Linked DNA regions of Homo sapiens: region 1 is linked to region 2. Evidence: promoter capture Hi-C in 16 types of primary human blood cells and fetal thymus (Javierre and others, 2016). All regions are on one chromosome and are shown on one strand. Each heading gives the region's core, a stretch centred on a gene start or on the middle of the fragment in contact. The rest is flanking DNA. Distances are from core to core; before and after follow the strand shown.

Evidence for each region. Contacts are between HindIII fragments. The CHiCAGO score rates a contact against its expected background, and 5 or more counts as called.
Region 1: a fragment that was not itself captured here is called in contact with the fragment with the promoter of EXOC3L1 in region 2 in 1 of 17 cell types (total CD4 T cells); the score reaches 5.1 in total CD4 T cells.

What each region holds. Positions count from the first base shown.
Region 1 is chr16:67,042,452-67,048,063 of GRCh38, forward strand. The region is part of intron 3 of CBFB (core-binding factor subunit beta); the gene reads left to right. Among named protein-coding and RNA genes, the nearest start is that of CBFB, 16 kb to the left of the region's middle. The HindIII fragment of the contact is 688 bases long and covers 1,734-2,421 here.
Region 2 is chr16:67,188,704-67,194,297 of GRCh38, forward strand. It overlaps EXOC3L1 (exocyst complex component 3 like 1), which reads right to left and starts at 1,433. Exons shown (of 14, transcript NM_178516.4): 1 at 1,268-1,433; 2 at 928-980; 3 at 317-477; 4 at 18-237. The coding sequence starts at 973. E2F4 (E2F transcription factor 4) reads left to right here and starts at 3,452. Exons shown (of 10, transcript NM_001950.4): 1 at 3,452-3,659; 2 at 4,058-4,167; 3 at 4,306-4,467; 4 at 4,769-4,812. The coding sequence starts at 3,525. RefSeq lists enhancers at 3,175-4,105, 3,274-3,413, 4,494-4,603 and a silencer at 3,504-3,693. The HindIII fragment of the contact is 15,341 bases long and covers 1-5,594 here.

The DNA.
Region 1 (5,612 bases), core at 828-3,327, 150 kb before region 2:
GTTTTAACAAATGTATGCACCCATGTAGATGCTACCACAGTCAAGATATATTTCAGTCACCCCCCCAAAGGTTTCCTTGTGCCCCTTTGCAGGAACCTGGGACTGACTGCACTGGGTGGTTCTGCCTCAGTGTCTCTCATGAGGTTGCAGTCAAGCTTTTGCCTGGGACTGTGCAGTCTCTGAAGACTTGACTAGAACTGAAGGATCTGCCTGTTGGTAGGTGGCTTCACTTCCTAGTCATGCTTCTCCATAGAGAGAAAAAGAGTGAAGCCACCATGCCTTTTATTTATTTATTTATTTATTTGAGACGGGGTCTTGCTCTGTCATCCAGGCTGGAGTGCAGTGGCGTAATCTCAGCTCTACAACCTCTGCCTGCCGGGTTCAAGCAATTCTCCTTCCTCAGCCTCTCAAGTAGCTGGGATTACAGGCACATGCCACCACATGTGGCTAATTTTTGTACTTTTAGTAGAGACAGGGTTTCACCATGTTGGCCAGGCTGGTCTCAAACTCCTAACATCAGGTGATCTGCCTGCCTCAGCCTCCCAAAGTGCTGGGATTACAGGTGTGAGCCACTGCGCCTGGTCCACCATGCCTTTTATGATCCATTCTTCAAGTCACTTTCATACCTTTTATGATCTATTATTTGAGTCACTTGTTGCTTAGCCTGTTCATTAGAAGCTGGTCACTAAGTCTAGCCCACATTCAACAGGGAGGGAGGGATTACACAGGGGTGTGAATACCAGGAGGCTGGGATCATTGAGGCCATCTTGGAGGCCAGCTACAATAATACTCACTTAAATTTAGCGAACTCAGAAAAAATTAGAATCCTAATAGAGCGGAAACAAAAAGCTCTATATTCTCTATTATTTGAAATACAGTTTTATGATTTAAGAAAATGGGCTCATAGAAATTAGTCCTTTTATTCATTCTGTTGCTTATGTGGCTATAGAATATTTTCAAATCAAGGGCTTCTATAAGGAAGGTCTGTTAACGGGTGACTGATTATAAGTATATACCTTACATATGACCAAGTCAGAGCACAGAATTTTATAATCCTTCAAATATATTTGAAACTTTTATACCCAGGTACCTGGTGAGCTGTCTACATTGGCTCTTAATAAGGATCTTTCTCAGAAATGATTTAAACTAATAACAGTATAATAGAAAGAGCTCTAGATTTGAGTCAAGACAGTCATAACTATTTTCCTTAACATGTAAATGAGGATCAGAATGTCTGCCCTATTCATGTGCCTCATGTGAGAATTAAATGTAGTACCAGAATATGTGAAAATGCCTTTTAAATTGTAAACCCCTGTCTACAGTTAGGCAATTTGATGGTTCTGTAGGGTGAGATTATAGCTAACTGATTGATAGAGTGTTTGTGCTACAGTGTGCCTTAGGTAAGCTTCACGTCAGGTAGTTGAACAATGTTGGAACACTACATCTTTCCCAAGTGTTCCATCCTGGTGTGTTACAAACACTGGCAGCCAAAATGTTCTTAATTCTTTAATCTAGCTGTCAAAAGACAAGGGAAAAGCAACTAATCAGAATTTAAATCATTCTTAAGTTAAAATTGTGTAGACCAGGCAACTCCAGTTCCTTTGATCTTTCCTCTTAGGACTTATTTCCAATTACTTTTATTTCAAATAAATGCAAGTGATTATGGTTGACCATAAATTATTAGTCTTGAGTGGTCAGATTAATGGTTTTTACATGTATTCTGTGTCTCATAAAGCTTCATTGGGATTTTGAAATAATGATTGGATGTACTTACTTTGCGATCCCAGTTTATGACTTTAAAGATAAGGGGTATGAAAATCATTTCATAAAAGGAAAAAAATGAACTTTACAGTGCTACTGTTCATTTTTTTCTGTGGAAATTGAATATGCTATCTCGTTTTTACCACATTGACCTCAGAAAAAGAGAGGTTAAACTTTTCTATGGTTGTTACATTCTTGTTTATAGCTTATGATTTTAATTGATAGTCAAATACATTAATGTCAGACATCGAGAAGTATTTATTAAGTATATGTCATTAGAGTAGCTACTTTTAAAAATTTTGATAAGTTGTATTTTTTTTCTTTCTGGACTTTATACTTAAAAGTCTTTTAATTTATTTTTATGAGCATAAAATAAAGCAAAATCTAACAAGATTGGATTTAATGAGTGAGGACAGAATTTTATTTTAAATGGCCTTTTCTAATAAAGGTCTATGATTCTGCTTCTTCTGGTACCATTTACGCACTTGCCTGCAGGATCTTTGTCCCAAAATACATATTGTGTTTGTTTATATACCATCCACAATTTGGCAGAGTTTACAGGACTTCTTGATGTTAGCTTTGAGAAATCCCTATTTAAGCTCAAGAAGTTCCTTCTCTGTAGATAGCCCAGTCATTCCAAATAAAAGATCTCTATGGTAAAGCTTTGGAGTGTGATTTTCTTCAAGAGAAATTAGACAACTTTACAAATACCTTGTCACATCTGGATTTTAAGTATTTCAGTTCGACTAAAATATGAATTGACAGCACTTAGTTATTGACAGTTTAGTGTATTGAAATCTGGTTTTTAAAAATATGCTTTAGATAAACTATAATACTCTAATAATAACGGAATCATAAAATTTAGAACTGGTAACTGCAAGCTTATATATATATATATATTTGACACCTTTGTAGCTGGCAGAGCGTTTGTATTTTTAAAGAAAAGTTTTTATTTTAGTTATTTTAGTTATTTTTCAATCTAAGAGAGGAAGTCGACTTTCTGAAAAAATTAAAATGTTTTGGCTAGGTGGGGTGGTTCATGCCTGTAATCCCAGCACTTTGGGAGGCCGAGGCAGGTGGATCACCTGAGGTCAGGAGTTCGAGACCAGACTGGCCAACGTGATGAAACCCCACCTCTACTAAAAATACAAAAAATTAGCCAGGTATGCTGGCATGTGCCTGTAATCCCAGCTACTTGGGAGACTGAGGCAGGAGAATTGCTTGAACCCGGGAGGCGGAGGTTGCAGTGGGCTGAGATTGTACCACAACACTCCAGCCTGGGCAACAGAGCAAGACTCTGTCTGAAAAAAAAAAAATTAAAATGTTTTAAAATTAGTATGTCATAGTACCTTCCAGTTAGAGTACGTGAATCTGCATACATGGTAAATGCACCTCTGAAGCACTTGAAGATTGTGAAGTCCCGTTTTCTCTTCTTTTGGATTGCATTATTTCCATTTTAGTGTAAAGGTGAAATTCTCTTTCATGACCTTTCCTGAATTACATATTCCAAGTGAGAGAAGGCAGAAATAATATGTCTGAGAAGAGCATCCTTCACTCTTCCCCTCCTTCCTTCTACTTTCTACATTTTTTTTTTTTTTTTTGAGACAGTGTCTTGCTCTGTCATCCAGGCTGGAGTGCAGTGATGTAATCTTGGCTCACTGCAACCTCCGCCTCCCAGGTTCAAGCGATTCTCCTGCCTCAGCCTCCCAAGTAGCTGGGATTACAGGCACCCGCCACCACACCTGGCTAATTTTTGTGTTTTTATTGGAGATGGGGTTTCACCATTTTGGCCAGGCTGGTCTCAAACTCCTGACCTCAGGTGATCCGCCTGTCTTGGCCTCCCAAAGTGTTGGGATTATAGGCGCTCTGAGCCACTGTGCCTGGCCTTTTTTGTTGTTGTTTGTTTGTTTTTGAAACTAGATATCTCTCTGTCACCCAGGCTGGAGTGCAGTGGTGTGATCTTGGCTTACTGCAACCTCTGCCTCCTGGGCTCAAGCGATCCTCCCACCTCAGCCTCCCAAGTAGCTGGAACCACAGGCACGCGCCACCATGCCCAGGTAATTTTTTTGTAGATATGGGGGTCTCACCATGTTGCCCAGGCTGGTCTCAAACTCCTGGACTCAAGCAATCCTCTCGCCTTGGCCTCTCAAAGTGCTGGGATTACAGGCATGTACCCATCATTTTTTTTTAATGGTTAATTCAAATGCTGCCAGGATAAAGACTATTGAAATGTTGTTGTCTGAAGATGTTAATTTCTTTGTAGCACTGCTATGCCCTAGTTTTACTATTTCCCATTTTCACTTGTAGTTTTTCAATCAGCATTATTGAGGTATAATTTACATGTAGTACAGTTCACCTATTTTAAGTGTACAAGTCTGTGACAACTGTGTATTCAGTAGTATAACCACCACCAAAGTTCACCATTGCTTCAAAAAGTTCCCTCATGCCCCCTTGCAGGTAGTGTTCTAATTGATGCAGACATACATGCACTGATACTTTTGTGATCCTCATCTTACAGGGAAGAAAACGTTTGTAATTTCTTTTTAACAGCATAAAAATGCTGTTTACCTTCAGGTGCAGAGACTTTGTTTCTTCAATATTATTCTTTGATGCTTAGTTTTGTACAGAGGATTGGAAGCTACAGACAAGCTAAAGTATAATAGTGATATGGTAGACTTTAATTATTGTTCCTTTTTTTATGAAAGTATGCACGTGAACAGTTGGAAAGTATTATCTGTTATAAGCTTTTCAGTTTAAGCTGGGCCTCCTCAAATTGATGTGTGTTTAGGAACTAAGAATTTTAAATAACATTTGAAGGGCCGGGCGCAGTAGCTCATACCTGTAATCCCAGCACTTTAGGAGGCCAAGGCAGGCAGATCACAAGGTCAGGAGTTCAAGACCAGCTTGGCCAACATAGTGAAACCCCGTCTCTACTAAAAAAAAAAAAAAATTAGCCAGGCATAAGCTGAGATCATGCCACTGCACTGTAGCCTGGGCAACACAGCAAGACTCTGTCTCAATAAATAAATACCATTTGAAATGTCTTCAATGCCATGTGTGGAAACTATTTAAAAAAATAAAACGTGCCTCTTGGCAGTATTGCTGTGCTTTCAGGACTCTAATGCAGGCTGTACCTAAGAGGGAAAGGGCTGAGTCTGGGGATGGTTGGCAGGTTGTTTTTGTGGATGAAAAACCTTTTACCCATGTATGCAGTCAGTACTGAGCCTTTTTGTGTTTTAAAACTTCAGATGTAAAGACAGGTTAATCTTCAGATTAAAACAAAAGGATGGCCTAGAAACTTGTGACTTCGACATTTACATTAGAAGAATGTAGATGTTTTCAAATAAACAAATCTGCCCATATCATAGATGTTCAAAGTTTGTTCCATATAATAACAATGATAGTTTCTAATAATCGTGTGGCCCTGTTTGCAGAACAGTGTTCTAAGTAATGAGCCATTTGGGAGAACCCTTTAAATTTTTTTTTTAGGATATTTATTCACACCAGCTTTTTAGTCCTGAGTTTCTATCCATCCCTTTGCTATCCAGAACATTTCTTGGCCATTTTTTTACTGGGTCAGGTGCCGTGGCTCGTGCCTTTGGTCCCAGTGCTCTGGAAGGCCAGGGCGGGTGGATCGCCTGGGGTTAGGAGTTCAAGACTAGCGTGGCCAGCATGGTGAAGCCCCGTCTCTACTAGGAATGCAAAAATTGGCTGGGCATGGTGGTGGGTGCCTCTGGTCCCAGCTGCTCGGGAGGCTAAGGCAGGAGAATCACTTGAACCTGGGAGGCAGAGGGTGCAGTGAGCCAAGATCGCGCCACTGCACTCCAGCCTGGGAACAAAATTCCATCTCA
Region 2 (5,594 bases), core at 183-2,682:
GGTCCCTGCATGCTCACCTGCCCGCAGCCGAGGCAGCAGGTGAGACAGGGCCTGCAGTTGCTTGTGCTGGGCAACCCGCTCCCGTAGGGGCTCTAGAGTCTGTAAGGCCTGGGACATGCCCTGGAGCAACCCACGGGCCTGGCTCAGGGCCTCCCGGGTTCCCTGCACCACCTCAATGGCCTGGGCCAGCTGCCACACACCAGTCTGCACGCCTTCCAGGTATGACTGCATCACTGACTGTGGAAAGATGGAGCCATGAGGCTGGGCCAGCCCTGCAGCACAGTCCCAGCACCCGCACCCCCTGCCCCATGCCCACCTTGAGGCGCGATTCCAGGGAGCAGGTACGCTGCACCTCGCGGCTGCGGTACTGGCCTAGCCTGGCCAGCTGCTCCGGCCGGTAGAAGATGCCTGAGGCCCACTTGAGCGCTGCACCCCGGGCCAGCTGCTCTGCCCGCTCCTGCTCTGGCCACTCAGGTCCTGGGAAGGAAGAGCCTGGGCAGCCGTGTAGTCAGGGAGGAGGGCCCAACGACCCCAGTCCCAGCTTTCTTATTTATTTATTTATTTATTTATTTGTTTGTTTATTTGTTTATTGAGATGGAGTCTCGCTCTGTTGCCCAGGCTGGAGTGCAGTGGTGCAATCTCGGGTCCCTGTAACCTCCGCCTCCCGGGTTCAAGCGATTCTCCTGCCTCAGTCTCCCGAGGAGCTGGGATTACAGGCGCGTGCCATCACGCCCAGCTAGTTTTTGTATTTTTAGTAGAGACGGGGTTTCACTATGTTGGCCAGGTTGGTTTGGAGCTCCTGACCTCAGGTCATCTGCCCATCTTGACCTCCCAAAGTGTTGGGATTACAGGCGTGAGCCACTGCGCCCAGCCAGTCCCATCTTTGTTGCCATCATTCCTCCCCTAGTCCACCCAAAAGGTTCATACCAGGGGACAACGCCGGCTGCATCTCATCCTTGGCTGCTGAGTCCATTGTGGGCCTGGAGGAGCCAGAGCTGAGGTGGGCCCGGGGCAAGCAGGCAGAGTAGATGCCCCTGTGAGCTGCTGCCTCTGTCTAAGCCCTTCTGAGAGGAGGAAGGAGGTTCTTCCCGGCCCCCTCGGGAAGTGAGAGGGAGCGGGTGTGATGCGGAGGGCACCTGGGAGGCTTTGCCTGCTAGGTTTCCCAGTCGTGCCCCTGCAGATGTCAAGCGAGACAGAGTGGGCACAGGCCTCCACTGGACCCTGGTCCTGCTCTGAGCTGCACAGGACAGTTTGGTACAGAACTTACCAGATTTGATCAGGCGTCCAGTTCTCCCTCCAAAAATGACCTTGGCCTTGAGAACAGCCCTCTCCCCAATGCAGCTGGGCACGCCTGCCACTTGCTCACAGGGCCTGGGCAACTCCAGCTGACTCCAGCGTGCAGCTGAATTCCTCTCCCCAAGGAAGTCTCTCTCCCACTCCCCACCCAGAAGCCCCTTCTTCCCACCGAGGCTCCTCCCTCCCCAAGGCCATCAACAGAAAGGAAGGAAGCTGAGTCTCTGGCATTTTATTCCCAACAGGAAAGAGTGTCTGCACAGAGGGTGGGGACAGCTGGGCGACACTTCCCTGAGGGGCGGGGGGGTGGGGTGTACTTGTACTCAACCAGTCTTGACCAGCCTACCCAGAACCTCTTAGTGCTCAGGAGAGGAGATAGGGATTTGCTAGACTTGGCCTCAACCTGGGGTGGTGGGCAGAGTGTGCAGATATGGATGCAGACGACATCAACAGCACAGGATGAAAACTGTGTTGGCCAGCCTCTGAGGAGGATGTGTACCTCTGCGGAGGAGTGAGAGGTGGCAGGCTCTTGTGAAGAGGGGTGTGGTGGGGGGTGGTAGGAGAGGGTCATGAAAGCTGTGTTTATCTTTTTTGTTTTAGACAGGGTCTTGATCTGTCACCAAGGCTGGAGTACAGTGGCACCACCATAGCTCACTGCAGCCTTCTGGGCTCAAGCGATCTGCCTGCCTCAGCCTCCCAAAGTGTTGGGAGATTACAGGCGTGAGTCACCGCAACTGGGCAGCTGTGTTTATCTTGAGAGTTATAGGGAGCCAGGGAAGGGACTATAAGGTGGTAATTATTTAGTGGATGTTCAGTCCACCACCCAAATCCACCCTTCAGGACAGAAGTGCTCATTCTCCAGCTGCCAGGAGTGTAGGCTACTGAGATCACACCACTGAGTCTCTCAGTCAATATTGGGGTGCAAAAGCATGGTACCATCGTGTGAACATGAACCCTTCAGAAGTGCTACCCCAATTTCAGAGATCCTAGTGGGATAGGCTGAGGCCTATAATATAATTGCATCTGCTCAATTCTGCTTGTCTTAATCCCTTAAAGGTGTGGATCCTGACCAGGTGCGGTGGCTCACACCGGTCATCCCAGCATTCTGGGAGGCTGAGGTGGGAGGATCTCTTGAGCCCACGAGTTCAAGACTAGCCTGGGCAATATAGTGAGACCCACATCTCTAAAAAACTAAAAATAAATGAGCCGGGCATGGTGGTGCATGCCTGTGGTCCCAGCTACTTGGGAGGCTGAGGTGGGAGAATCGCTTGGGCCCAGGAAGCTGAGACGGCATTGATCTTGCCACTGCACTCCGGCCTGGGCAACAGAGTGAGACCCTGTCTCAAAAAAAAAAAGTGTGGATCCCCAACAAACTTGCTGCAAAACCCTATCTCGAGTCCCATTTCCCAGAGGACCTGATCTAAAAGAAACAATAATAAATAGTAACAATGTTAAAAGTTACAAAATGACCGTATCACACATTCCTGCATGCCAGGAATGACTGAGTGCTTTACTGATATTTACACATAGGTAAACACGTTTGCATTGGCTGAAGTGTTCATAACCCCATAGTCTCTGAGCACTGTACTGTGAGGACAAGACGAGCGAAAGATGAGGCTAGGACCATGGGTGGAACAAGGTGGACAAGGTAGATATAGTTAGTGCTTGCTGTTTGGCAGGAAGTGAGGGATAGGAATAGATGGGGTGACCCCAAGACAGTAGGGCAGCCTTTAGGAACAGGTTTGATGTGGCAGTAAAATGAGTTTGAAATATATAAAAGAATAAATAAAGAGAAAAAAATGGAAAAGGAACAGGTTTGAGGGAGCAGATTGGATTAGTCAGGTAGTGTGGTCTCCTCTCCCAAGATGGGGACTAGGCAGAGTTAGTGATGTTGGGGCAGATTGGCAAGGAAAGTTCCGATGGCGTCCCCTTCTCTACTGCCAGGGCGGCCCACTGACGCCCTTCTCATTCCTCCCCAACTTCATCCCAACTCCCCGGTCTACCCAGGTAGTTTTCGTCTTATTCGGAGGCTGGACATTTGCTACTGGTCCCTGAAGTTTTGCGGCTGCACCCACAGACAGCAATAGCGCCACGTTCCCTGGAAGGCGCACGGGACGGAAGCGGAAGCAGTAACGCTGGCTCCGGCTGCCCGGCGGCCAGGAACGGAAGCGGAAGTGGCGGCGGCGCCGGCCTGGCCTGGCCTGGCTGAGGGGAGGCGGCGGGCGGGCGCGATGGCGGAGGCCGGGCCACAGGCGCCGCCGCCCCCGGGCACTCCAAGCCGGCACGAAAAGAGCCTGGGACTGCTCACCACCAAGTTCGTGTCCCTTCTGCAGGAGGCCAAGGACGGCGTGCTTGACCTCAAGCTGGTGCGGCCTGGGCTAAGGGGAGACAAGGGAGGCTGGTGGACCAGGCCTGGGCCGGTAGCGGGAACCCCGGGGGCGGCCCAGCTGGGTCCTCCGAGAGCCGGCCGCCATCGTGTGCTTTCTCACAGGAGAGAAGCCGGGGGATGTTTCATTCATTCGGCCGAGGCCATCGAGCTACAGCTATGGGCCAGGCTCGGGCTGCAGGTGTTCGTCCTCGTGGCCCTTCCTGGCTGGCGAGGAGAAGAGCTGCCTATGGGACAGAGCTGCGGTCCTGAGCTGCAGTAGCGCCTGGGAGGCACTACAGGGTTGGAATCCAGATTACTCCCTTCCCAGACCACGTCTCAGGGTGGCTGGGGGTACACCCCAGAGTGGGGCTGAGCATTCTCCATTCTCTCTGCCAGGCAGCTGACACCCTAGCTGTACGCCAGAAGCGGCGGATTTACGACATTACCAATGTTTTGGAAGGTATCGGGCTAATCGAGAAAAAGTCCAAGAACAGCATCCAGTGGAAGTGAGTGGGCATAGTGGGAGGGTAGTAGAGTCTCCCACCCAGAAGTGTCGGGCGTGGGGTGGAGGGTGCCGAAGAAGGCAGGGGCCATGGGACCCAGAGTTCTCAGCAGTCCCTCTCAGCCCCACTCCCTGGGCTCAGGGGTGTGGGGCCTGGCTGCAATACCCGGGAGATTGCTGACAAACTGATTGAGCTCAAGGCAGAGATCGAGGAGCTGCAGCAGCGGGAGCAAGAACTAGACCAGCACAAGGTGTGGGTGCAGCAGAGCATCCGGAACGTCACAGAGGACGTGCAGAACAGCTGATATCCTCCTGGCGGTCCCTGCTGGGGGGAGTGGGCAAGGGGCCCTCTGGTTCAACTTGCCCTGAGTCCTGTTCCTCTTGGGAGTTTGTCTTATAGCCACTGGCCATGGCCCAGCCTCAGGCTCCCTCCTCAGAGCCCCTCCCCTTCCACTCTTAGCCTGTGATCCCTCCCCCGGTGGACCTGAGTCCCCAGAACGGTCTCTGAGGGCCTGTGTGTCAGACCTTAGCTAAAGAATTGGGTCTTTTCTGTAGTCTGCCATCTGTCACCATAGGGCATCAGCCATTCTCCTTAACCCTCACACTTTGGCCTACGTCACTCATGAGGACATCTGCAGATGCTTTGCTGGTGAGCAGAGCCTGGGTAGGGGTAAGGGGGTGGGCTGGGCTCAGCCAAAGTCCTGAGCACTGGGCTCAGTGTCTTAGGAGAGTTCTGTCTCTTAAGAGGGTTTCTGGGGCCTGCTCAGAGAGGAACCAGGCAGGGTAAGTCTTCTGTCTGAGTGTCACTGGGACCCTGTGGAGGTCAGCTATACCAAAAGGGTACAGAAATTCTGGAGTGGGTCCCTGGGTCTGTTCCCATCTCTACTGTTTCCTGGATTTGGCTTCTTGGGTATGATAGAGGCACAAGGGGGAGAGAGGGAGAGAGGATATGTGTGTATTTGCTTGTGTGCAGGCTCTTACATGCAGGGCATGGGGGTGCCCACTTCCAACTTGTTAGTTTAGTTGCATTGTGAATACAGGATCTGTTCCTTTTTTTTTCTTTTTAAGAGATGGGCTCTTGCTGTGTTGCCCAGGCTGGTCTTGAACTCCTGAGCTCAAGCTGTCTTCCCTCCTCAACCCCCTAAAGTGCTGGGATTATGGGTGTGAGCCACTGTGCCCCGCTGATGTGTTTCTTCTCCATCTTGTATGCTCCTGACTGGTCATGGGAAAGGGATGTTGGCCTTGGCTAGAACACCCTCACCTAGGGATCAGCCATCGGTAGAGGAATGAGGTGCCTGTGGCCAGTGATCTTTCACTCCACATAATTGAACCCAGATTTCCTGGTTACTGACCCTGGGCTCTCAGGAAGAGAAGAGCTTTAGCTCTGCCTGGCCACTATGGGGGATGGGTGAGGCCCACTGTCTAGTTCCT